Linked DNA regions of Homo sapiens: region 2 is linked to region 1. The links are contacts of gene promoters, found by promoter capture Hi-C in blood cells and fetal thymus (Javierre and others, 2016). All regions are on one chromosome and are shown on one strand. Each heading gives the region's core, a stretch centred on a gene start or on the middle of the fragment in contact. The rest is flanking DNA. Distances are from core to core; before and after follow the strand shown.

Region 1 (6,146 bases), core at 2,278-4,777:
AGAGAAAACAAATCAAAACCACAATGAGATACCATCTCATACCAGTCAAAATGGCTATTATTAAAAAATCAAAAACCTGGAGAGGCTTCAGAGAAAACGGAATGCTTATACACTGTTGGTGAGAATGTAAATTATTTCAGGCACTGTGGAAAGATTTCCCAAGGAGCTCCTGGTTTTTGAACATTCATTTTCTATCCTGAAACCTTACTGAATTTATTTATCAAATCTAAGAGTATTTTGGAGGAGTCATTAAAATTTTCTAAACATAACATTATATTATTAGCAAACAGAGAATTTGACTTCCTCTTTTCCAATTTTGATGCCTTTTATTTCTTTCTCTTGCCTGTTTGCTCTGAATAGTGCTTTCAGTAGTGTGTTGAAAGGAAGACTAAAAGTGGGCATCTTGTCTTGTTCTGGTTTGTAGGGAGAATGTTTTCAACTTTTACCCATTCAATATGATATTGGCTGAGTTTGTTATATATGGATCTTACTATTTGGAGAAAGGTTCCTGCAATGCCTATTTTGTTGAAAGTTTTTATCTTGAAGGGACGCTGAATTTTATGTAATATTCTCTACATCTATTGAGATGATCATGTTTTTTGTTTTTAATTCTCCTTATATGGTGAATCACATTTATTGATTTGTGTATCTTGAGCCATCCTTGCGTCCCTGGAATAAAATCTAGAAAAAGTCTTGCCTATCACTATTTAGAAAGTGCTGGTTCAATCAATACATTCAAACTGATATATCCAATTATTCAATCCATACTGGTAAATTAAATTGCCTTCTATCATTTCCTTTCTATGAACATATAAACACAAACACATACACATTTTTAAATGATTAAAACTATTTATCCAGACACAGGAAGACAAAGCAAACCCAGGAAAGATACAGAAACAACAGAAAAATGAATATATATTTTGTTTATCTGGGAGATTTCTCTGAAAGTGATTGTAAAAGAATACGTATCTACCATTTCACTCTTATAATCCTTTTAAATTTCATCCAGAATATCTCACTTTCTCTCTACCCATATTCCTTGGTGCTGCTTCTCTCCTCCCTAGTTGCTCCTACTCCCTCAGTCCTGAGCCCTACCTAAATTTTTCCGGCCCTACCTTGTCTACTGAGATGTCTTTAGAATACACTCAACTGTCTTGCCATGGCCAGAGAATCTTCTCCAAGAAAGAAACCATCAAGTACTTCCACAGCCTTCCATCCTACATTCTACCAGTAAACACCTGCCCAGTTGCAGGGCTGTGACCCTGAGGAGGAAAGATTTATACGACAAGTAGAACCTCGCCTGAAGCCAAGAGAGGGAGATCCTCCATGTCATCACTCTCTGGAATCTCCCATAAGAAAATGGTAGACTCTGGTCCTAAACCCTTAATTTCCACAGAGCGCATTCTGCTCCTATCTGTTCACCCAGTGATTGACCTAAGGGCTGCTTTCTATAGGAGATCATTGAATCACAGCTAAATTTAAGTGTCTTTGCTTTATAGTCTGCACATGCCACTTGTTGTGGTCTACTGCCTAATCCTATATCTTAACTGTATAAATGGCAGGCAGAGCAGCAATAAAGAACTTACATTCAAGGTGTTCTTCCTGCAATTATCTTCCTCCAAGTTTTTTAAGGGATTATAAATTTCATTATGAATGAAACTGCTAATAGCCACACAATTTCCAAATCTCCTGAAGAAAAAAAAAATATGTCTCAACACTACTTTAGAAACAACTTATTATTTCTTTTTTCTCAAAGTATATAAGTACTTAAAGACAATACACTGTGTCTTCGAATGTTCCTACAGCTCATAAACCCACACATGAAACATAGTAGAAGTATGCACACGCACACGCACATATATTCATATATGTAAAAATATATTATGTAAATATTATTTAAATAATTAAACAAGCAAATGAATGAAATATTTACGAATGTATATGTCATGCTCATGCTGCATTATTTCCTTTTTCCTTTAATATCTAATTTTATGACTATGCTTGCATCTCTAGGTGCATGAGGGAAATTATAGTAACTATTGAATAAGATTATGGTGGGCATGATATGAGTATATTCATGTGTGGTATACCTGTCAATACCCATATATCTACACTGCATCTATGGTATGTTAATATTATTACTAGAGTAAGCTATTATTATTATTTTAAGAATTCTAGAAGCCACTTATTCTGTTTATTATCTTTTTAAAGTAAGAATTTTATTCCGTATTCTGTTATTTCTTAAACATACTAAAGAAAACTATAAGGCAGTCTATTTGGCTTAAATTACTACTTCCTATTAAACATGTAGTTTGAGTAAATCACTCAACTTTTCCGAACATAAGTATATTAATCACAAGAATGGAAAAACTAATACATACTTTATAAAACTGCCTTGAGGATCCAGCAATAGAAATAAAAGAACTTGGAAAAGGAGAGTTCGACAAGGGTAAAATTCTCATTATTATAATTAAAGTCAAAAGCTTCAGTTAACAGATAAATAATGTTATTGGCTGCAGCATTCCCTTCTGTTTTTCTGCTTTCTATTAGGTTAGAGTGACAGACTCTCCAACCTCCAACTGGTTAGTGATTGGTCTTGAGAAAAATCCTCAGCACTCTCTCTCGAATCTGCTTTGTCCTGACTCCATAGATTACAGGATTGAGGGCTGGTGGGACAACCACATACAGGTTGGCTAATATAATATGTATATACTGTGGGATATTATGGCCAAAACGATGTGTCAAGAATGAAAAAAATGCTGGTGTAAAAAAGGCTAAGATAACACCAATATGAGAACCACAGGTGTTGAGAGCTTTGAGTCGAGCTTCCCAGGAGGGCAGGCAGAAGACAGCATACAGGATCCTGACATAGGAGAGAATAATAAGGATAACATCCAGTAACAAGAGAGATATGTTGCCAAGGCCAAACCTAATGTTGACTTTGATGCTGGCACAGGCCAGACGGGCAATGCCCATGTGCTCACAATAAGTATGAGGGATGATACGATGCCCACAGAAGGGCAGCCTCAGAAGGAGAAACACCAGTGGAACAACCATGTACAGGCTCCTCAGGACAGCAATGCCTGCAATGAGGCTGATGATTTTGCTGGTGAGGATCATGGTGTACCGAAGAGGTTTGCAAATGGCAATGTAGCGGTCAAAGGCCATGGCCACCAACACAATGCTCTCCATAGCAGTGAAGAAATGGATGAAGAACATGTGAGAAAGGCAGCCTCCAAAAGATATTTCTTTGGTATTGAACCAGAAGATGCCCAACATTTTGGGGATGGTGGCTGTAGACAAGCCCAGGTCAATGGAATCCAACATGGCCAGGAAGTAGTACATAGGCTCATGGAGACTCTGCTCAGTCTGGATCACAAACAAGAGAGCAGTGTTTCCCAGGAGTGCAACAAGATACACAAAGAAAAAAGGGACTCCAATCCAAATGTGCACATCTTCTAGCCCTGGGATACCCAGCAGTAGGAATGAAGAAGGATGGAACTGGGTGTGATTAGACGTAGACATTCTTCCTGCCATATAAAGCTGCTGGGCACACCAGCGACGATTATAATATTCCTATTAGTAATTCTTGTTCCACTTCTTCTTTTGTTCAGATTTCTAGTCAAATTCACAATAACATATTAATCTTTCTTTATATATATTCATGAGTAAGGTAAAATACTCTCCACAATTTCTCCTAGCCTCTCCTGAGCAACATTGGTACCAGGAATAGAACCAGTCTTATTCTACTGCCCCTTCACCTAATATCAAAGACTAATATAAAAAGAAATGGCAGAAGAATGTCATCTGCCAAATAAAAATGCAAAATCTGGAATTTAGCCAGAACTAAATGAGAAAAATAAAGTTCCAGGGTCAGTGTCTATAGAAATGTTACACATATTTTTGCTTCACGATCAAGGTATTTGTAATCTCAACTATTCCTCTATTTGGGAATCAAAAATGTAGTGTGTAAAACCGTTTCTGTGTTGTTATGCATTTTTACAGGTATTTGTGACTACTAGACTGTATACTTCTATATACAATTTAGACTATACTGTATACAATTTGGGACTACTAGACTGTATACTTCTGTATACAATTTAGGCTGTATATACTGTATACAGTTTGTGACTACTAGACTGTATACTTCTGTATACAATTTAGACTGTGTATACTGTATACAATTTGTGACTACTAGACTGTATACTTCTGAGAGAAGAAACAATTTATCTTGCTCATATGCAGGAAAAAGATCTGCTACATAATAGTTCTCAATTTAAAACCTCCACAAATAGACATTGATTACAAGGAGGCAAAACTGTGGGTAATTTTAATGTCATATTTTAGGAAATAAATAATTTAGTTTCCATCACACCTGTGTTTGAGAAAAGAAGCTTATCCATCGGATTTGGAAAATGGGTAAAAACAAGGAAAAGAAAATACTTGACAAAGAGTATTTTGCAGCTATGATGGAACATGGATGAAGAGATAATTTTAATCTAGATAATCCTATTATTTGGAGAGTGCATAAATACACGCATTCAGTAAAGAAACTGTTTATATATAGGCCAGCTTTTTCTGTGGCAAGGAAACTAAATATTCTGGGCTACAAAATTTTCAAATATATCTCAGTCTTATATTCATGGGAAGAAAGTAGAAGCCCTTTGGATGACCTACAGTTTAGCTGCTACTCAAATTCTATCCCAGCTGTTTTGTCTCTATGGATGTCTCCAATATAGTAAATCCTGAATTTACAGATAGTAAATCCTGAATTTACGGATAGTAAATCCTGAATTTACAGATAGTAAATTCAAAATTTGAAGCAAAAAGTTCATTACTGCGCAACTTACTTTTACTTGGGAAAAACTAGTTTTACAGATAATGCGGAATTGGTTAAATGTGACGTGGCAACTACACAAAAAGCATTGATTACAATTTAAGAATACTTGAACATTGGGGGAAGTCAGAATTGAGACGTACGCAGCAGAGATAAAAGTGTGTGAATGTCAGCAAGTTCTACTTTAATCCTGTAACAACAAAAATGCATTGCTGGTAGTACCTATTTGAAGCATACGAAGAATAGCAAAAATGAGAGATTATTTGATAATTTGGGAAATTATTTCAGAGAGAGAGAGAGAGAGAGAATGTGTGTGTATAAACTTGGGTGAAACTATCAGAGATAAGGGTATAAACTTCCTGTTTTTCACTAATTGAGAATACACAAAATAGGCAGCGAAATACCTTTCACAATTTATCCCATCAAATATTGAAGAGGTTCTCTATGTATCAGTGGTAATTAGGAAGTTTAAATACAAAAAATGAATAAAACTGGTCATATATCCTTAAGGAAATCACCACGTAGTAAAGAAGATAAAATTCCAAACATGAAATTTAAGAACTGTACTGCAAGTGCTATGGTAGAAATGTGCACAGGATGTTTTAAATGTAGAGGTGAGTCAAGAAAAATTGTATAGAGGAAGTTAGGCTTATGCTGACTTACAGAGAAATTCTTCTGACAAAAAAGAAAGAAAATTTTATTCTGTATAAATAAGCAGGGGCAAAGTGGGAAAAAAAGCACAGTGGCCACTTAGGATATAAAAATGAAATCAGTCATCCTCTTCAATGGTCTTATCCAGAGATTCTTATTAAGTCTGATGTCTTGGTCATGTTTAGGGGCTCCATACAGCATGAACTGAAAAAATAAAAATATGGCTACATTCCAAGGATAGCAACTTATCCCATGTATCTCTGTGGATTTTAAAAGAAGATTTGGAAATTAATGCTTCCCTTCTCCCTAGGACAACATCATTTCCAAGTTTATAAATACTGATCAAAGCAACCAATCAATTAATTATCCAATAAATGTTTACTTAACCATTATTTCAACACATATTTACATATCTTCCAATCTCTGCTGGATTTAAAAATAAAATTGGTTCTCAGCCCCTGTTTTGACTCCCTAACTCTAAGGTCCTACATGGAATTATATCCAGCTATCCAGCAGCCACGTCCTCAGTGTGTCATCTTCTTAATCTACCCTATTGCACCAACCTCCACCACACCCTACCTATCCATATTCCCACATCCTGGAACAGATGAGCATAAGTAAAAGAGATAATGTACACCTGTTTTCTCATCTTTAT
Region 2 (4,460 bases), core at 530-3,029, 250 kb before region 1:
CCAGATCTGAGAGTCAAGGAAAAGAGAAACTAACTTTCCTTCCTTTCTGGGACATCAGACTACCATCGTTGCAGGGACAAGAGAAAACATTCCTTTGGCGCTATAGTGCCTATCCCCTATTAAACTGTTTAGAGGTATGGAGTAAAGCGTAAGATAATTCAGAGTACAAATGCAAGGGAAAGTCCCATTTTTATTTATAAAGGGTTGTCTAAAAGTTTATTTGATGCTGTGGAGAAGTTCTGTTGTATCCAGTGATGTTGTTCTTTCTTTCTCAGTCTTGGCACTATTTACATTTCTGGCTGGATAATTCTTTGCTGCGTGGGGTTCTCCTGTACATTGTAGGATGCTTAGCAGCGTCTCTGGCCTCTGCTCACTAGATGTCAGCAGCACCACCCCAGATGTGACAACCCCAAATTTCTTCAGACATTGCCACGATAGCCCCAGGGTGAACACAGTGCTCTCCCAGTTGAGAACCACTGTTCATTAGGCACCTCTCGTCTCTGATGCTGTGTTGGGAATTTGCCAAGTGCTTCTTACCCAGCTTAGTCACAGGCACACTTACGCCAAGCTAAATTCTTAGAGATGATGTATTACCAGCCCTTCTTTGTTTTCACTCTCTTCTCTAGAGCAGAATCATTTAACATACTGTAGCAATTGATATTTGAACTGGTTTTGGGGGTCTGGGCTCTGGTCTGTATGTGTGTAGGTCGCAGATTACAAGGTATCAAGCCTAGAGAGATTTGATGGAGGGACTTGAACTGAGGTTGAAATTCTAGCAGCTATTTTCTGCATAGAATGAATAGTGTGGTTGTGAATTTGAGGCATGATGTAGCTTGTGATATTCTGTAACCTTCAGAGTGTAAGATATTCTTTATATTTTGTTTGTCTTCGTGCTTTCCTCTTGCTCCTTCTTTCTTGGTGGAATAATTGTTTATTTACATATTCTTGGGTCTTAGTATTAGAGCCATGGGTAGCTACTTTCTGCCTGTTACAGCTTTTTCTCATTCACTGCTTCCTGCTTTGCATCTTCATTTTATTCTTCTTGCCTTTTTGTCCTCATCATTGATATTATTACCCTGATACTTTCTCCTTCACCTTTTGTTCTGGCTCCTCAACAGTCCTCAAACTGTAAATATTTTTTAAATGCAAATGAATCGTCAATTCATATTGCTAGTTTAGACACTTCCACATTCATTAGTATGACTGCCCCACGGACATTTAAACTTGAGTAGTCTTTTCTAAAAATAAACTTTCTGGAATTTTCCCATCACAGACATTGTTCTTTCTCTTTTCCATATCTGTGTGAATTGTTGCCCATTAAGATTTTATAGCCAAGGCCGAGCGCGGTGGCTCACGCCTGTAATCCCAGCACTTTGGGAGGCCGAGGCAGGCGGATCATGAGGTCAGGAGATTGAGACCATCCTGGCTAACACGGTGAAACCCCGTCTCTACTAAAAACACAAAAAAATTAGCCGGGCGTGGTGGCGGGCGCCTGTAGTCCCAGCTACTCGGGAGGCTGAGGCAGGAGAATGGCGCGAACCCAGGAGGCGGAGCGTGCAGTGAGCCGAGATCGCACCACTGCACTCCAGCCTGGGCGACAGAGCAAGACTCCATCTCAAAAAAAAAAAATATTTTATAGCCAAGATAAAAGCTTCAAAATATGGACATAAAGCCAACATAAGAGAAGTAGCCACATGAAATAGCACATCGATTTGATCATTTCAGTTCCTCAGTACAGCCACAATGTAAGATTGATACAATCCTGGATATTTACTGCAAATTGACACACACAGCACCTCTACCACATTCTATGTTCAAGCCAGTTTGAGTTGTGCCTCTATGAAATGCCACCATAAACAGCCCTAATACAGAGAAAATAGTTAATCCTGTATTATGTGGACCAAACTTAAGCTTTTCTTCGGGGTCATTGAGATGTATGGAGCACAAGATAAAAAGACCAAATAGAAAGGAATAGGCCAATTCCACAGAAATGAGACTAGCAGTGGCAGTGATAAAGGTGAACAACTGGTGACCAAATGAAATTGAGGATGTGAAGTGGACTGACTTGGGCAAAGATAGGATGCCAGGGTGAATATATGGTAGTTATTTCCTATTTTGTTTAAATTTGGTGACTTAAGTGGTTGCTAGTGTGATTCAGTAGGATGGAAGGGAGACAAGAGTTGCCGAACTAAGTTCTTTTAAACATCTTGCATTTGAGGTACCTGTGACATATTTGCTGGTGTATATATTAATCAAAATCATAAGGAAAGGGGGCTGAGCAGAAGTACAGATTTGAGAATCATCAACATGTGTACATTAAAATGAAGGAAATGGATGAAGTCAGCAAAGGTAGGGTAGAAGGTTAGAGAAGGTGAAGTTTGAGAAACAGCCATATATAAAGTCCATGAGCCTGTATCTTCAGCAACCAGAACAGGATGTAAGCTACTCAAGGATAGAAATTATGACTTCATCATCTGAGGTTCTCTAGGCCAGGCACAATGCCTGACAAATAATACATGCTATACATACATAACATTACACACACATATGCACACACACAATGTTGTGAAAATCAAGACACTGATGAGTCAATTGAGTTATTTTTTGATGTCTTCACATGGGTTCTTAGGGACAGTCTGCCCTGAGTTTTTTCTCTACTTTGTGGCCTCCACATTAGGATTATCTTTATTTGTATCATATCATGGGGTAGGGGACATGGAAGGAGAAATGTGGATAAGGGCATGACCTGTTACTCCTTGACTTAACCTGTCTTTTTCCTTCCTAGGATGTGAGTGATGTCACAGAAAGGTATGTGTAAGGAGAACATGAGGTAGTTCCCCTGGACTGACAAATGATTCCTTTACCCATGATCAGTGGGAAAGGGAAGAAGAATCAGAGTGGGGAAGATTCAAGAGAGTAGTCTTGAATCGCGCATCACATGGAGTTTTGGCATCCCCAAATAAAGGGGATGAACTGGCCTCTCTGGTAGGAAAATGTGGGTGATGGGAGGTCAGTAGGTGGGGACAGTACTGTTATTTAGAATAAAGAGTTGCAGTATTGCGCCACTGCACTCCAGCCTGGGAGACAAAGGGAGACTCTGCCTCAAACAAACAAAAAAAAATGAATAAAGAGTTGCAGTATCAGTGACTCCCCAAGTACCCTGTTAGTGTACTTTTCCATAAACCTCTGTGCCTGCTTTCATCCCTGATTCTTAAGTTTATAGTTACCTCAAAATACACAGGAATTTTCTTTGCCCATAAATTTTTTTTTTTTTTTTTTTTTGAGACAGAGTTTCACTCTGTCGCCCAGGCTGGAGTGCAGTGGTGTGATCTCGGCTCACTGCACCTTCCTGCCCGTGAATTTTATCAGAGTGACATTCCCATCTGCATTATTTCTCAAGGTCTAAGAATTTGGTCTTGGCACATCTGCCTTAAGTTTTTCTTTCTCCCAGGCCTTGCTCCCTAGTAGATTTTCTTTTGTCTCAATTCCAGTAAAAACGTAAACCCGAGCTCTGGAGGATAATAATTTAGCCCGGGAATCAAACATGTTCTCTATCACATACTCCAGAGTCTCATCCAACAAGGTGACATGTCAAGCTGCTTGCACACTTGGTTCCTCCATGCTCCTCACAGACACACGAAATGGGAACCCTATCGTCCCTTCTGAAATCTGTACTCTCCGTTTGGAGGTGAGGACATCTTTTCTCCAGCTAGTGGCATAACATTCCCAGAGACGGCAAATCCTAAAATGCTGTTTTGAAGGTTTTCTGAGAAATCCCAGGGCCTAAGCCCACAGACTCTTCTGAAGAAACCCCTTCATTTGATACTTTCAAAGCCCCAGCAATAGGCCCCTGGTGTTCTGCCTGTCAACCCAGACATCTTCAACCCCTCTGATTTTAAATATTTTATATCTTTTTTTAGAGGTAGCAAAAGATTTCCAAGCCATTATTTTACTGAACTGCATAACATCTCTAGGACACAGAAAAAGGAAAATTATAGTATTTTCTAAAAACAACAACAGAAAAACAAAATGAGACTTTAAGAAGTTAAATCTTGGACAGGCGCAGTGACTCACACCTGTAATCCCAGCACTTTGGGAGGCTGAGGAGGGCAGATCACGAGGTCAGGAGATCAAAACCATCCTGGCTAACATGATGAAACCCTATCTCTACTAAATATACAAGAAAATTAGCCAGGCGTGGTGGCACGCGCCTGTAGTCCCAGCTACTCAGAAGGCTGAGGCAGGAGAATCGCTTGAACCTGGGAGGTGGAGGTTGCAGTGAGCCGAGATCGTGCCACTGCACTCCAGCCTGGGTGACAGAGCGAGACTCCTTCTCAAAAAAAAAAGTTAAATCTTACACAAGTTTATGTAGATGGTGAGATGATAGTTTCTAGTCTAGCTCTTCTGGCTCCAGTGCCAGGGCTGTTTGCAGAATGATGCTAAGTGTATTCAGAAAGGAG

Evidence for each region. Contacts are between HindIII fragments. The CHiCAGO score rates a contact against its expected background, and 5 or more counts as called.
Region 2: a contact is called between a fragment that was not itself captured here and the fragment with the promoter of OR52E8 in region 1, in 1 of 17 cell types (megakaryocytes). The highest score is 5.1, in megakaryocytes.

What each region holds. Positions count from the first base shown.
Region 1 is chr11:5,854,163-5,860,308 of GRCh38, forward strand. OR52E8 (olfactory receptor family 52 subfamily E member 8) reads right to left here and starts at 3,528. Exons shown (of 1, transcript NM_001005168.3): 1 at 2,587-3,528. The coding sequence starts at 3,528. The coding sequence ends at 2,587. The HindIII fragment of the contact is 1,911 bases long and covers 2,485-4,395 here.
Region 2 is chr11:5,605,587-5,610,046 of GRCh38, forward strand. TRIM6 (tripartite motif containing 6) reads left to right here. Exons shown (of 8, transcript NM_001003818.3): 5 at 2,786-2,808. TRIM6-TRIM34 (TRIM6-TRIM34 readthrough) reads left to right here. Exons shown (of 14, transcript NM_001003819.4): 5 at 2,786-2,808. It also overlaps a transcript of TRIM5 not described here. Among named protein-coding and RNA genes, the nearest start is that of TRIM6-TRIM34, 11 kb to the left of the region's middle. The HindIII fragment of the contact is 260 bases long and covers 1,650-1,909 here.